5 separate regions of the Homo sapiens genome follow, and regions 2, 3, 4 and 5 are each linked to region 1. Evidence: promoter capture Hi-C in 16 types of primary human blood cells and fetal thymus (Javierre and others, 2016). All regions are on one chromosome and are shown on one strand. The core of a region is centred on a gene start or on the middle of the fragment in contact, and the rest is flanking DNA. Distances in the headings are between cores, read along the strand shown. Region 1 holds the start of FMR1-AS1 (FMR1 antisense RNA 1). Region 2 has its middle 10 kb from the start of TMEM185A. Region 3 overlaps TMEM185A (transmembrane protein 185A). Region 4 has its middle 42 kb from the start of IDS. Region 5 overlaps IDS (iduronate 2-sulfatase).

What was found. Contacts are between HindIII fragments. The CHiCAGO score rates a contact against its expected background, and 5 or more counts as called.
Region 2: a contact is called between a fragment that was not itself captured here and the fragment with the promoter of FMR1-AS1 in region 1, in 2 of 17 cell types (total B cells and activated CD4 T cells). The highest score is 6.8, in total B cells.
Region 3: a contact is called between a fragment that was not itself captured here and the fragment with the promoter of FMR1-AS1 in region 1, in 3 of 17 cell types (total CD4 T cells, non-activated CD4 T cells and total CD8 T cells). The highest score is 8.7, in total CD4 T cells.
Region 4: a fragment that was not itself captured here is called in contact with the fragment with the promoter of FMR1-AS1 in region 1 in 1 of 17 cell types (M0 macrophages); the score reaches 9.6 in M0 macrophages.
Region 5: a fragment that was not itself captured here is called in contact with the fragment with the promoter of FMR1-AS1 in region 1 in 9 of 17 cell types (activated CD4 T cells, non-activated CD4 T cells, naive B cells and 6 more); the score reaches 15.5 in activated CD4 T cells.

The regions. Positions count from the first base shown.
Region 1 is chrX:147,910,452-147,913,201 of GRCh38, reverse strand. It overlaps FMR1-AS1 (FMR1 antisense RNA 1), which reads left to right and starts at 1,385. Exons shown (of 2, transcript NR_024503.3): 1 at 1,385-1,560; 2 at 2,207-2,750. FMR1 (fragile X messenger ribonucleoprotein 1) reads right to left here and starts at 1,283. Exons shown (of 17, transcript NM_002024.6): 1 at 972-1,283. The coding sequence starts at 1,022. RefSeq lists enhancers at 863-962, 1,543-1,752 and a silencer at 1,123-1,462. The HindIII fragment of the contact is 5,224 bases long and covers 1-2,750 here.
Region 2 is chrX:149,640,666-149,643,365 of GRCh38, reverse strand. No RefSeq gene overlaps it. Among named protein-coding and RNA genes, the nearest start is that of TMEM185A, 10 kb to the right of the region's middle. The HindIII fragment of the contact is 5,543 bases long and covers 1-2,700 here.
Region 3 is chrX:149,622,075-149,624,850 of GRCh38, reverse strand. All of the region lies in intron 1 of TMEM185A (transmembrane protein 185A), which reads left to right. Among named protein-coding and RNA genes, the nearest start is that of TMEM185A, 8.3 kb to the left of the region's middle. The HindIII fragment of the contact is 2,111 bases long and covers 241-2,351 here.
Region 4 is chrX:149,461,655-149,464,359 of GRCh38, reverse strand. No RefSeq gene overlaps it. Among named protein-coding and RNA genes, the nearest start is that of IDS, 42 kb to the left of the region's middle. The HindIII fragment of the contact is 292 bases long and covers 1,234-1,525 here.
Region 5 is chrX:149,495,184-149,498,028 of GRCh38, reverse strand. IDS (iduronate 2-sulfatase) reads left to right here. Exons shown (of 9, transcript NM_000202.8): 6 at 1,513-1,683. Among named protein-coding and RNA genes, the nearest start is that of IDS, 8.7 kb to the left of the region's middle. The HindIII fragment of the contact is 421 bases long and covers 1,040-1,460 here.

The DNA of each region.
Region 1 (2,750 bases), core at 136-2,635:
CAATTCAGTCCACTGCAACACCACAAATTCAAAGGAAATGTGGTCAAGTTCTTAGGGGCACAAAAATATTTTCGCTCAGTTAAAAAAAAAATGCCCTAGTAATAATATACTCTCAGTTAATTACCTGAAGTTTCATGGCATATATTTAGGTCTTTGGAAACTTAAACACACACACACAATTTTTAAGTAGCAGCGCTGCTAATGGTTTTAGACGCTGAAGCATGTGCATTCCTGAATTTACCCCGTTTAACAAAAAGGGGGACGCGAATATTCACGATGATCAACTTCTTCAATGCACTGCTGGGCCATGTTAGGGTCTTCCTGAAACTTTTGGATCTAAAATCTCCTCCGAAATCCACAAAGAGAAGCCACTAAAAATCAGTTGCCATTGTGATTTGGTGCCGACTACCGCTTCTTACTACTCTTTCTTCACAGCCCTCGCCCAGAACAGTGGAGCTCTCCGAAGTCCCAATGCTAGACCGGAAAAGAGAAGCCAAAGGAGACCTGAAGCCCTCTTGGCGCTGCAGGAGGCGGCCCGGCTGAAGCGCCCCCCGCTCCTCCACAACTACCCACACGACAGGCCCGGATCCCGCTGGGAGATGATGTTTAGGAAAGGGGGAATAAGCCATCGCCGTCACTTAGCGCCGATTTCGGCCCTTCCCGCCCGGCTCTAGTACCTGCCGCCGGCCCTCGCCCATCCCCAGCTCACCCCGGCGGGGCTCGGCGCCGAAAGAGAACCCTCTCCTCGCTGGTCTCTCATTTCGATAGGCGCTAGGGCCTCTCGGAGTCGGAGAGGGGCTTCCAACAGGCCCCAAGTCCAGTCCTTCCCTCCCAACAACATCCCGCCGAGCGTGCCCTGGCACCCAGGCGCGGTGCTCGGGAAGAGGGCCCCGGGCCTGCCTCCCGCCGACACCAAGAAGAAAAGGGAGGGAAGGAAGGGCGAAGATGGGGCCTGCCCTAGAGCCAAGTACCTTGTAGAAAGCGCCATTGGAGCCCCGCACTTCCACCACCAGCTCCTCCATCTTCTCTTCAGCCCTGCTAGCGCCGGGAGCCCGCCCCCGAGAGGTGGGCTGCGGGCGCTCGAGGCCCAGCCGCCGCCGCCGCCGCCGCCGCCGCCGCCTCCGCCGCCGCCGCCGCCGCCGCCGCCGCCGCGCTGCCGCACGCCCCCTGGCAGCGGCGCCTCCGTCACCGCCGCCGCCCGCGCTCGCCGTCGGCCCGCCGCCCGCTCAGAGGCGGCCCTCCACCGGAAGTGAAACCGAAACGGAGCTGAGCGCCTGACTGAGGCCGAACCCCCGGCCCGCTGCGGGTGTAAACACTGAAACCACGTCACGTGATCAACGCTGTTCCCTCCCCCCGCGGGCTCAGCCCCTCGGCCCCGCCCTCTCTCTTCAAGTGGCCTGGGAGCGCGCGCATGCGCGCTGCTGGGAACCGGCCGGGGTGCCGGGTCGAAAGACAGACGCGCGGGCCGGGCGTGCGCGGGCTTGGTGGAGGGCGGGAAGGCTGAAGGGCGGTGACAGGTCGCACTGCCTCGCGAGGGCCAGAACGCCCATTTCTGCAGAGGTGCACTCAGTGGCGTGGGAAATCAAATGCATCCGGTTATCCCAGTTCGGCCTCTCTGGGATTCCGCGGGAGGGGGTGTCTGGTCTGGTTTGGTTTGGTTTGGTTTGGTTTGGTTTGGTCCGGTTCAAAGTAGCGCAGTCTGACTGAGCGGGAGGTGGAGTGGAAGGCGAGAATAGGGGTGAAGGATTAGACAGAAGAAGACTTTGAACTAGGAACAGTGGCAACCAGGGTGACCCAGGCTTTTGTGACCCGTAGAGGCAGAAGGTGAGGCGTCTACGCCCTCTCTCACCAGATTTTGGGCGGCCCTGTGGAGACACCCTGTGCCCTTTAAGGGACATGGATTGAGTCGGGATCTCAAAATGTGAGCCTTTCCTCAGACCCAGCTTTGACCCACGTACTCGCCTTTCCTCAACTCATTTTCATACTTTCACTTGACTATATATTTTTTAAAAATTGTGTTAAGCACTTGAGGTTCATTTCTGCCCCTACTGTATGTGCACCCTGTGCCAGAGGGTGGGGTGAACACGTGTGTAGCAGTCATGCGTCCTGTCCACAGGGGCCGATGCACCTCCTTGCAACCCTTTACATTCCACTGTGAAACAAACCTCAACTTTTTCTTATTCCTGTTTTTACACCGTGCTTATAGCTGCCTTAATCCATGTTCCCTTCGGGATGCTGGTATCCAACTGAGAAGTTGACGGAGCATCTATCGTGTGCCAGACACTGTGCTAAGTGCTAACGAGAAATCGGTGAGCAAAACAGAAAAGAAAAAAAAAGAAGAAACGACTGCCAGCATTGAACTTAGTACCTAGCAAAGTAGGTGGACATAAATCAAATTGTCAGACAAGTAAATGAGTAGTTGCAGCTGTGATAAGGGGTATGAAGAATAGGCGCTTCCATGATGGCGGAACATGACCTAGTCTGGGGTGGAGAAGGGGAGATGATTCCAGCTGGAATATGGCAGGTGAGAGTTAACTAATAGCACTGAGTTGGCAGAGGCAGGATGACCTGCCCCAGGCAGGTGCCCCAGAATGAGAGGATGTTGCTGCTGGTGGAACTCCAGCTTTAAAGCGGTGGATCTAGGGCCACATTCCTCAAGGCCATAGCAAACAGGAAAGACCTTTTGGACTAGGGTCTTTGGAGTAGTCACATGAGGCCAAGAACCCAATAGGGCTGAAAGAGAATCTCAT
Region 2 (2,700 bases), core at 183-2,682, 1.7 Mb before region 1:
ATTCATGAAGCTGTTTCTGCAACTACATCAGCAGGTGTGAAAACCTTGCACATTTTGTGAAACACCTTTTTATCCCATATGGCAAATGCAGCCTTTATGTGGTGCAGAATTGCCACAAGAAAGGCATACCTATAGATTCTAATATGAATCCAGAAAAATCCAAGTTATTATATGATAACTTAACGCAAAAGATCCGTGTAGAATATAAAGCTGGAGAATATAATGCCAGCAAAGGATGGTTCAATAATTTTATTATGTATATACATATATATTTAAATATATACATAATAAAATGAAATATATATATGTATACACATTATATATAAACTGGGCCAACTGAGGCCAGATATTGGGGAGTATGGGCAAGTTTGGGCAAAGCACAGGTATATATATATATATATATATATCCATATATATATACCCACTGGGATAGAGGCAGTGGTTTGATAATCTTAGAAAGAGATTTGGCTTGAAAAATGTCAAGATAACAGGAAAAGCAGCTTCTACTAACCAAGAGGTAGCAGACAAGTTCCCAGACGTCATTAAGAAAATTATTGAGAAGAAAACATATCTGCCTGTACAGGTTTTTAATGCAGATGAAAATACCCTACTCCGGGGGAAAAATGCCACAAAGGACATTAATTAGTGAGGAAGAGAAGGAAGCACCAGGATTTAAGGCACAAAGCAATAGGCTAACTCTATTGTTTTATGCAAATGCAGTCAAGTTTGTGATCAGGACTGTCCTTATCTATAAAGCTGCTAACCCTCAAACCTTGAAAGGGAAAGATAAAATATCAGCTTCTAGTCTTTGGGTTGTACAACAAGAAAGCCTGGACAATTAGAACACTTATTCTGGATTGGTTCTATCGATGCTTTGTCCCTGGAGACAGGAGGTACCTTGGCAGTAAGTGACTGCCTTTTAAAGTTCTTTTGCTATTAGACAATGTCCCTGGCCACCCAGAACCCAATGAGTTCAACATTGAGGGTGCTGAAATGATCGAAGTTATCCCCAAACACAAGGTCTCTAATTCAGCCTCTAAATCAGGATAAGGACTTCTAAGGCTCACTACACATGGTACTCTATGGAAAGGATTGTCAACGCTATGGAAGAGAAACCCCATAGAGAGAAAATTATGAAAGTCTGGAAGGATTTTACCATTGAAGGTGCCATTATTGTTATAGAAAATCTGTGAAAGCCATCAAACTTTAAACAATAAATTTCTGCTGGAGAAAATTATGTCCAGATGTTGTGCATGACTTCACAGGATTTACGACAGAGACAAATAAGGAAACAATGAAAGAGGTTGTGGATATGGTCCAAAAGATGGAATGTAAAAGATTTCAAGATATGAATCTTGAAAAAATTCAAGAGCTAATAGACACCATGCCAGAGGAAATAACAGAAGGTGACTTGATGGAGATGAGTGTTTCCAAACCAGTGACAGATCATGAGGAAAAAGATGTATAAGAAACGGTGCCAGGAAAAAAAACTAACACTAGACAATCTGGCAGAAGGGTTCCAATTTTTTAAGACTGCTTTTGACTCCTTTTACGACATGGACCCTTCTATGATGTGGGCACTGAAACTAAAACAAACAGTGGAAGAAGGATTGGTACCATATAGAAACTTTTAGATATAAGAAAAAGAAAATTACAACGTATTTTCATTCAATTACACTGAGTATGCCTGCCTCTCCTGCTTCCCCTCCTACCTCTTCCTCCTCTGCCAGCCCTGAGACAGCAAGACTAACCCCTCCTCTTCCTTTTCCTCAGCCTACTCAATGTGAAGATGATAATGACGCATATCTTCATGATGATTTACTTCCACTTAATGAATAGTAAATATATTTTCTCCTCCTTATGATTTTCTTAATTTTTTTTATAGTTTATTGTTAGAATACAGCATATTATACACATAATACACAAAAATATCTGTTAATCAACTGTTTACATCATCAATAAGGCTTCCAGTCGACAATAGCTTATTAGTTAAGTTTTGGGGGAGGCAAAAGTTATAGGTGGATTTTTGACTGCATGGAGGGTCAGTGCCCCTAACTCCCATGTTGTTCAAGGATTAATTGTAGTTGCTTTATGTTGGACATCTGCAAAACAGTTTATGGGAGATACTACAAGTGCTCATCTATGTCTTGTCCTCCTTTCCTTCCTGAACACAGGGGAACATCACAGTCCTTTTGAAGTTAGGAAGGGTCATGTGATTACTCTTTGCCACTGAAATAGAAGCAGACACATTATTTTGTCACAGTCATTTCTATTGAAGGTGCTGCAGAAGCAATACATTAATTCTCAAACCATAACAACACAGAACACAGATCACTCTACACCTAGGAGTTGTCATACACATTTGCTCCTTTAGATGTGAGAAACCAGATTCTGTGCATTTAAGGCCCTGGGTAGGAATCACCCCATAGGATGCTGACTACAGGAAGTTTTTCATGTGACCTGCAACCTTCAGGCTTCCGAAAGTGGTGTTGTCCTCCTCAGTATGGGTGGAAGGCAGTGGCCAAAATAGCCAAAATCTCAGTTGAGACCAGGGGTTTCCTTCTCTCGTTGCTGTGCCCAAATGTGCCCATAGTCCCCAATACTTGGCCTCAGTTGGCCCTGTTTACAGCTTTACCGTTCTTATCTCTACTAACAACCACTGGGCCCAAGACAGGATCTGATGATTATGTTAACACGCAA
Region 3 (2,776 bases), core at 47-2,546, 1.7 Mb before region 1:
GAATGGCAGTTGAGGAACTTAAATGCAGATCTTCCTACTGGCCTGGGCTCTGCTTTTATTTGGCTTTTGTGCTTTTTTGTATCTACTGGTTAAATGCTCTTAAACATTTTTTATCTTAATAAAACCAGCTAAAGTCTCCACTAAAAGACTTTAAATTTGGTTAATAAGGTGTAAGAGGGGCAGTTCCCTTGATAGTTTGTGAGTATGTCAGGTTGTCATTTGGAGCCATTCTGTCAAGCTTTAGACTGGGATGTGCCATCCAAAGTTTGTGTGTGTGTATGTGCTTGTGCGTGTGTACGTGCATGCAGGCATGTGTTAATGCGCGTGTATGTGCTCCAGTGAAGCCAGCAGCTTCCACTGGAAAAAAACTGATAGGTCTAAAAAGAGTCCAGCTGCATTCTTATGATATGCAGAAAACAGATACTAGAACTTTTACATTCAGAGTCATCATTCCTTTGCTAAGTATATTCTCTCTCTCCCTCCCTTCTTCCTTTTCTCCCTCCCTATTCTCCCAACCCTGCAAAGTGGAGAGAGGGAATTTGAGCCTGAGCAGAAAGCTCCATGTAAATTTCAGAGAGGATACTAGCTTTGGCCCAGGTAGCACTACTTAGTGATTCATCGTATACTAACACTACAGATTCAAATGAGAGTGGAATAAATCCATTCTAAAGGTGTAACTGGAAAAGTGAATTTTAAGAAGTAGTGATTAATGTTAAACCAGAACCTCCCATTTCTCCCAGGTTTGTGGAGAATTAAGCAGTCTATTTTTATACTTGGAATCTGGTCTGAATGTTTCTTGAAAAGTAACTCAAAGTAGTTTAGGCTATGACCATAAGTTATTTTTGTAAATACATTTTCTTATCACTGTATTATTGCATATTATTGTGTATTCTTTTGCAAATCAGGCTTGATATTTCCTTTTGGCTATGCAGTCACCTTTTAGACTTTGCTTGCAAATATATTGATATAGTTAAGATACTATTCTTTCTTTCCCCAACTAGGAGTGTGTATGAATTACATCTTTTGAACTTACTGATTGTATTACTTTGTTTTACTTGATCAACTTTGTAGTTTAATTTTTTTAAAAAGCTAGCTGTTGGGATTACTGATCAGTTTCATTTTTATATCTATATTTCTACTTTTAGTTTTATTATTTTCATGTTTTGGCTTTTTCCCCAAATTTCTTAGAAACTCAGTTTACTAGTTTTCTTTTGCCTCTTTTTTTTTTTCTTTGTTTTCTACTTTTACTTAAACATTTTAAATGAACACATTTTCTCTTGAGTTTTGTTTTGGCAGCTGCCCAGGTATTTTTATGTTTCAATTGTATTTTAGTAACTCTACTAAACTGCTTAACAAATCAGTATTGAAAATGATCCATTTTTTGTCAGTGTTTTTATGAATTGTATAAAATGTCTACCTCTGGTCTCTACTGATTACAATCTACCTTACACACTCATATGTATCTTCTGTCACTCTTGTTGAGAAAATCTGCAGTGGCCCCATATTACCTATTAATAAATTCCAAGGACTTTACCTTGATATTCACATTCCCCTACCATGTTACCACAGCCAACTTCTGGCTTATTCCCCCCAGTACCCTTTCTCCTGTCTCTGCAGCACCCTACCCACCACGATTTATAGAAAGTATTCTGTGTGTTCCAGTCTGCTGGAATTGGAGAGGGGAGGATAAAGAGGGGATGAGCAATGGGTACAATAATACAGTTAGATAGAAATAATAAATCTAGTGTTTGGTAGCACAAGAGGGCAAATATAGTTAATAATGTATATTTGCAAATAACTAAAAGAGTGGAATTGAAATGTGCCTAACACAAGTAAGTGATCAGTGCTTGAGGTGATGGATATCCCAGTTACTCTGATTTGATCATTACACATTGTATGCTTGCATCACAGTATCACGTGTACCCCATAAATAGGCACAACTGTTTTGTATCCATAATAAATAAAAATAATTTTTAAAAAATTGGAAAACATCTTATTCCCTTTGTCTGGAATTCCTTATTCCCAACTTGTTGCCCAGATTCCACTTCTCTTCCCATCTCTCTCAGGGAAATTAATCTTCCAAGTCCCCTAGTTTACCATATGTAGTTACTTGTTGATACATCATCTCCCTCTGTTCCTATTAGTCTGAGCATCTTGAGCGAACGCATTGTTGCTCCTTTTTATGTATCTCACACATTTCAGGCACTCAAATATTTTTAACAATTGTAAATTAGATGTGTGTTTATTGTGTATTGCTGCCCCATGATCCTTTTTTTCTCCCTGGAAAAACTATATATATGTAAAGCAAGTATGTTTTCTTGTTCTGCTACGTAATTATCTTCATATAAGCTTGCTGTTTTTTAAATTTTCTCGTTCTGCTACTTAATTCTCTTCATATAACCTTGCTGTTTTTTAAATCTACTCTTGTGTTCATTTCCGTATTTTCCTTAGGAACTTTGTCTGTTTTATCTGTCATGATTTAAGAGTAGCATGAGGAAGCCCACAATTAAAATATTTCTGTGTATCCTTAAAAAAGAAAAATTGTAAAATTATTTCCATATTCCATGGTCATGTTAGGTTTTTGTTATTTAGGTTTTCCTTATTAGTCCTTTTAGCATTTTAATACTTTCGGCTTTGAAATCTAATTTATCTAATTTTAAAGATAGTAAATTGTTGCTCTTGTCTTCATCCAGGCGTGCTAAACCTCTGTCATCTGATTTCTGATAGTTGGTTCGACTTTTGACTTTGGTTCCAAGCGTAACTCTTGAATGTAACA
Region 4 (2,705 bases), core at 130-2,629, 1.6 Mb before region 1:
GAGATATGGCAGAAAACCTTTCTTGAAATCCATAATGAATTACTGAATACTGTAAACTAAATTCATACTATGACTCATACTACATTGAGAAAGTATCTTTAGGAACCTAAGTGCCTTAATGAAGAGAAAAGAATGATTTTTTATCAATATGGCAATTATTCATAAGTAAATAGGTGCTTTTAAAGCACTTGAGGAAAAGTACTTTCTTAAGTAGATTGTCTGACCCCTGAAATTATGTTTACACTACTAATTTCAGTGGGAAACTCTTTCATCATAGTCTATTAGTCGGTATCAGTTACATTATGCTGTGGTAACAAACAACCCCACACATCTTAGTGGTGTAACATGACAAAGTTCTACTTCTTATTCACATGATTTCTCCAAAGCAGATCAGCAGGGGGCTTCATTCCTCACACTCATTCAGGAATTCAGGCTGGTAGAGGCCCTCTTGTCAAAATTTGCTTTCACAATCACCATGGTGGGAACAAGGAACATGGAGAATTATGTGCTGCCTTTTCAATTTTCTGGCAGAGAGTGACATGGTCATGCGGTTATCCATACTTAACTTCTGGAGATCAGGTTCCCAGAAGGAGTACCAGAAATATTTAGTGAATAGCCTTAATGGCATAGACTCCAAAGGTAAATTCCAGGCTAGGCTGTATCTTATATCACAAGTTCCAAAATCATAGAATATACGTAAATGAGGTTTGGCTGATTTCATCAGTATATCAGAGTCTCCCAATCAGAGATAAGATCTCTTTCTGTAAGTAGAGCTCATAAGAATCAACGCATGTTGGAGGAACTGAGCCATCTGCAGAAGTGTCCCATCCTCTCACAGGACCTGTAAATGTGCTGCTGATAAAGGCTTCAGAAAGCACTGGGTGTAATGAGGGCGACAAGAGTTTTTCCTCAGTGCCGCATTATATTAAAAAAAAAGCTACTTTATAAATGGAACAAGTGAAACAACTTCTGCATTTCATCCCCTTACAGGTAATTAAGAAGAGAGAATAATACACTCTACCACACCTCTGGTAGAGTGTATTATTTATTCTCTCTTCTTAATTACCTGTAAGGGGATGAAACATCATCTGTGATTGTCATGTTACCTGCAGTAAACTCCTCCCCATATGGAAGGACCATAAACTCCTGTCCCATGGAGTTTTAACCTGCCATGTCCATTCCTTTAGCTAAAGAATGTGAGTGGATATAACCGACTACATCCCAGTAGAAGCTTTAAGAGCCATTGTGAATTTCTGCCAGCATTCTTTCTCTTTCCTTCTGCCAGAAATAAGAACATCATCTCCCAAAGGGAGATTGCATCATTCAGGCTGGGTTCTGGAATGAGAAGACACATGGAGCAGAATTGACCCAAACCAGTGACCTATACTGTATATGAGAAATAAATGTTTCCTTTGTAAGCCACTGAGATTCTGGGGTTGTTTGTTACTGCAGAAAAGCTGACCAACACACTAAGGAATGAAGGTGCCTCAACAAAAAATAAAAGGATCTTTGGTCTAGGAAAGCTTTTTATACTCCCCTTTAGTACACACAGGGAGGCCCCAGAAGGAAGAACGTAATGAGAGGAGTTGAGATAAAGAAGAGTTCAATCACCATGTGTAATAAAGGAACTGAAGAACTTGAGGAGAATTTTCAATTTTCAATTTTCTGCTGGAGCACGGGATGGTAAACTATGGCCCAAGGGCCAAATGTAGCCCACCACTTGCTTTTGTAAATGAGGCTTTATTGGAACACAGCCATGTCGATTCATTTATGCATTATCTTTGGCTGCTTTTGCTCCATAAAAGCAGAGTTCAGCAGTGATGACAAAGATCTTATGGTGTGCAAAACATAAAATATTTACTGTTTTGCCCTTTACAGAAAAAGTTTGCTGACAAATGTCATAGAGAGTGGATGAGATGGGGCTCTGAAATTTGTACAAGAGGAGAGGTAGGAAAATGATTTCTATAGAGAGAACAGACACAAGCAACAAGAGAGGAGATTGGAGTCTAAGAAGAAAGATACCCAAGGACAAACATTGTGGTAGGGAAACCAAGGAACTTTGAGATGTCTAATCTTCAATTCTGCATTGTTCCCTTTTCTGTTCTGTGCAGTAATTCCCCTCCACTATCCCCAAGCCTTAAGTAAGTCTGTTACATAGAGTATTCCAGTGCATGGGGTGTCTGGAGGAAGGAAGGAGAGAGAGACTGTTACAGACATTGCAAAGCAGGAGAAACTAGGATAATAACTGCCCCTTCTCACCTCTTGACGATTCCTTAACCCTTAGTTTCATCTCCTTGACAGACTGAGTTACTTGTCGCCGTTTCTTACTCCTTCTTATTCCCTGTTAATCCTTCCTGGCTTTTGCTCTCTTAACAAGTTTGTGTTATTGTTGAGGTCATCTGAGGTGCAGCTGTCCTCCTCAGTCAGGAAGGGCAGATTAGTAGTCTCTCAGTAGTCCTGAGCTCACACTCCCCCAATACCAACCATTGGTCCTTTGAGTAACCTCCTAGGATTCTTGGGGAGCAATGTAGATTTTTGCTTTCAGAAGGCTCTAGAATGGGTCAGAACAATAGGCAAATTAACTTCACTTCAAGACTGCTGGATAGTCAAGGATGAAAATTAACTGCCTATTTTCCATTACAAATTATGTTCATTCATCTTATCTAGGAGAGCTCTTTAGAGATTCTTTATTGGTGTCAAATGGC
Region 5 (2,845 bases), core at 1-2,500, 1.6 Mb before region 1:
AGGTGGCTACATCCTGCCATCGCCAGGCACCATGGTTGCCTGATGGGCACTAGTGTCCTCAGTGGAGTAAAGATGGGATTTAGAGGTCAAGGCCAAGAACATGTAAGAATCTTGTAAGAAATGCTTGGCTTTCCGCTTCACTCCACTGGAGGGTTTGATTTCCTTTCCTTGAACTTATTGAGCAGATGTTGGGTTGGATGGTGAGATCACCACAGAGTAGTGAATCAGAGCTGGCTGCCAAAGCCTGTAATAAGGGATGGCCCTTCCAAAACAGCCCCAGGGAATGTGAAACTCTCTTCAAAAACTGCCTGTTCCCCCTGAGCCTGTCAGGTTAGATCATCTAAACACAAAGCACTGCATTGCTTCTTGGAACCTCAAATCCTGTACTTGCTTGTATGTCATTTAGAGCATGTAGTCTTTTCTGTTTTAGAATCCTTTTCCATTTTTCCCTATCATGTTTTATGAGGGCCTGAGCATCCCATCCTTTTGACTTTGCAGAGAATGCCCCTCACATGTAATGAGAGTAGAGACCAGCAGTATGCTCTTTGATGTTGCAGGTATCTTGCTTTGATTGGCCCAGGGGATCTTGCTTTCCTAGTAGGAGCTGTCAGCCCCCTTGATAGAAGAAGGCTGTGAGGTTCACCTCTCCTGCCTCTTTGCAGAAAACAGTTAACAAAGCTGGCCTGGCTGTGATTCTTTGAAAGGCCTGCTTATAAGTCTAGCCCTTGGCTGGCATCTGGGAACTTTGATTTCTGAAGTGTTCTCACTATTCCCAGAATTGGCTTACTATGCTTAAACCGTTTAGACAAACATTATGGTTGATGATAAACCCCTGGGTTTGTTTTTTTTTTTCTGGGAGCCTGGAATTTTGATATGTTCCAGACAGATAGTACCTACCTGACCAGCCCCAAATAAAAACTGGATAATGAGGCTTTAATGAGCTTCCCTAGTTAGCAGCATTTCACATGTATTGTCACACAACTCGTTGCTGGGAGAAGTAAGTATCCTATGTGACTTCCCTGGAAGAGGACTTGAAGCTTGTGCCTAGTTTCCTCTAGACTTTGCCTCATGTGCCTTTTTTCTTTGCTGAGTGTGTTTCACTGTAATAAGTCATAGCTGTGAGTGAGACTAAATGCTGAATCCTATGAGTTCCCCTAGTGAATTGCTGAACCTGAGGGTGGTTTTGGGAACCCAACACCTCACCACACTTTTCTAGCCAGGCAGGAGGTGGGGACAGGAACAGAAGGGCGTCTGTTTGTATGAAGGAAGAGAGTTGTTGCTGCTCAGTTTGTAGGAAACAGAAGTCGTATGATTTCATTGCCATTGGCATCTCATGAGAGTAACTTAAGGCTGGACTTCCAGGTCAGGGCCGAGCACGTGGGGAATGCTAGTGAGCCACCACTCAAATGCATCCCAGGCTTAGAGAAAAGGCAGTATAGACAGTGATAGAGCCACAAGCTTGTGCTTTTGCTAAAAGAGTGACAACTTTGTGGCTTTGTGTTTTTCCCCAAGGAATTTCAGAAGTTGTATCCCTTGGAGAACATCACCCTGGCCCCCGATCCCGAGGTCCCTGATGGCCTACCCCCTGTGGCCTACAACCCCTGGATGGACATCAGGCAACGGGAAGACGTCCAAGCCTTAAACATCAGTGTGCCGTATGGTCCAATTCCTGTGGACTTTCAGGTATCAAGGACATAGTTTGGGGATGTATTGGACACTGATGACATAGTGTCGTAGGTGAAACCACTCTTCTCAGTAGACACAACTCCACCTATAATGTCTTATTAAGAGCTTTCTTTGTGTGAGTTATCAGGCAAAGTGCTGGGGTGGAGGTGTCCTATAGGTATTTAGGACACAGGCAGTGTTGCCTGGATCAGGACTCTCCCAACCAGTGTCTTACTTTCTAAAGAAGGGAATGTCCAGAGAGTTGGTGACTTGTTGTGTGTGGACACAGAGGTGGGGAACCAGCCTGGGTGACCGTTCCTAACCCAGGGGATACTGTTCAGGTGACAGCTCATTAATTGTAGAGTGATGGGCAACTCCCGAGCAGCCCAGAATGCTTGGTTTGCTGGTACTTGCAGGTTCCCTCTGTGGGAAAGCCCATCCTGGCTAGCTGTCACTCTCAGGGGGTGGCTTGGTGAACAGGCCCTTGGTGCAGAGGGAACTGGGACACCATCATGGCCAGTGCCACCCAGCTGTGATGTCCGGCATTCCTTTGCCATGATTTAGGGGCGGAGCAACCACACAATTAGAATCCTCACACTGACTCATCAGTCACCCTTTCTCCCTGGAGAGCAGAATACACATTGACTAATGCTCTTTCTGGAATATTCCACACAGAACCCTGCCCTTCTCTTACCACATGAATGCTGTGGCAGGCAAGCTATAGCGGATGGAAGATGGCAGTGTTTTCAAAGTGTGCATCCTGGACTACCTGCCTTAGAATTTCTGGGAGGGCTTGTTGGAAATGCAAAGTCTTGGCCCACTCAGATTTACACAATTGGAAGCTGGAGGTGGAACTTGACCTGACAACCGACATTTCTTAAAAAAAAAAAAAAAAAGCACACCAGGTGATTCTGATTCATCAGAAGTTTGAGAGCCTCTGCTGTAGAGTATTGTTTAAAGCAAACACAGAACAAAACCACTGCATACAGATATCCCTTGCTATCCAAACTTACTTGGCCCCTGAGTTTGCACAACAAGAGTTTGGTTGGTGAGAGGTGTACATTCCTCAAATGTATTTGATTCCTGTTTCACTGAGAGTTTGGAAAGCAATGCATCCATCTGTTTGTTTTCTAATTTTGTGTTTCTGGGCTCCTGATGGTGAAGTGGCTTGAACTGGCTC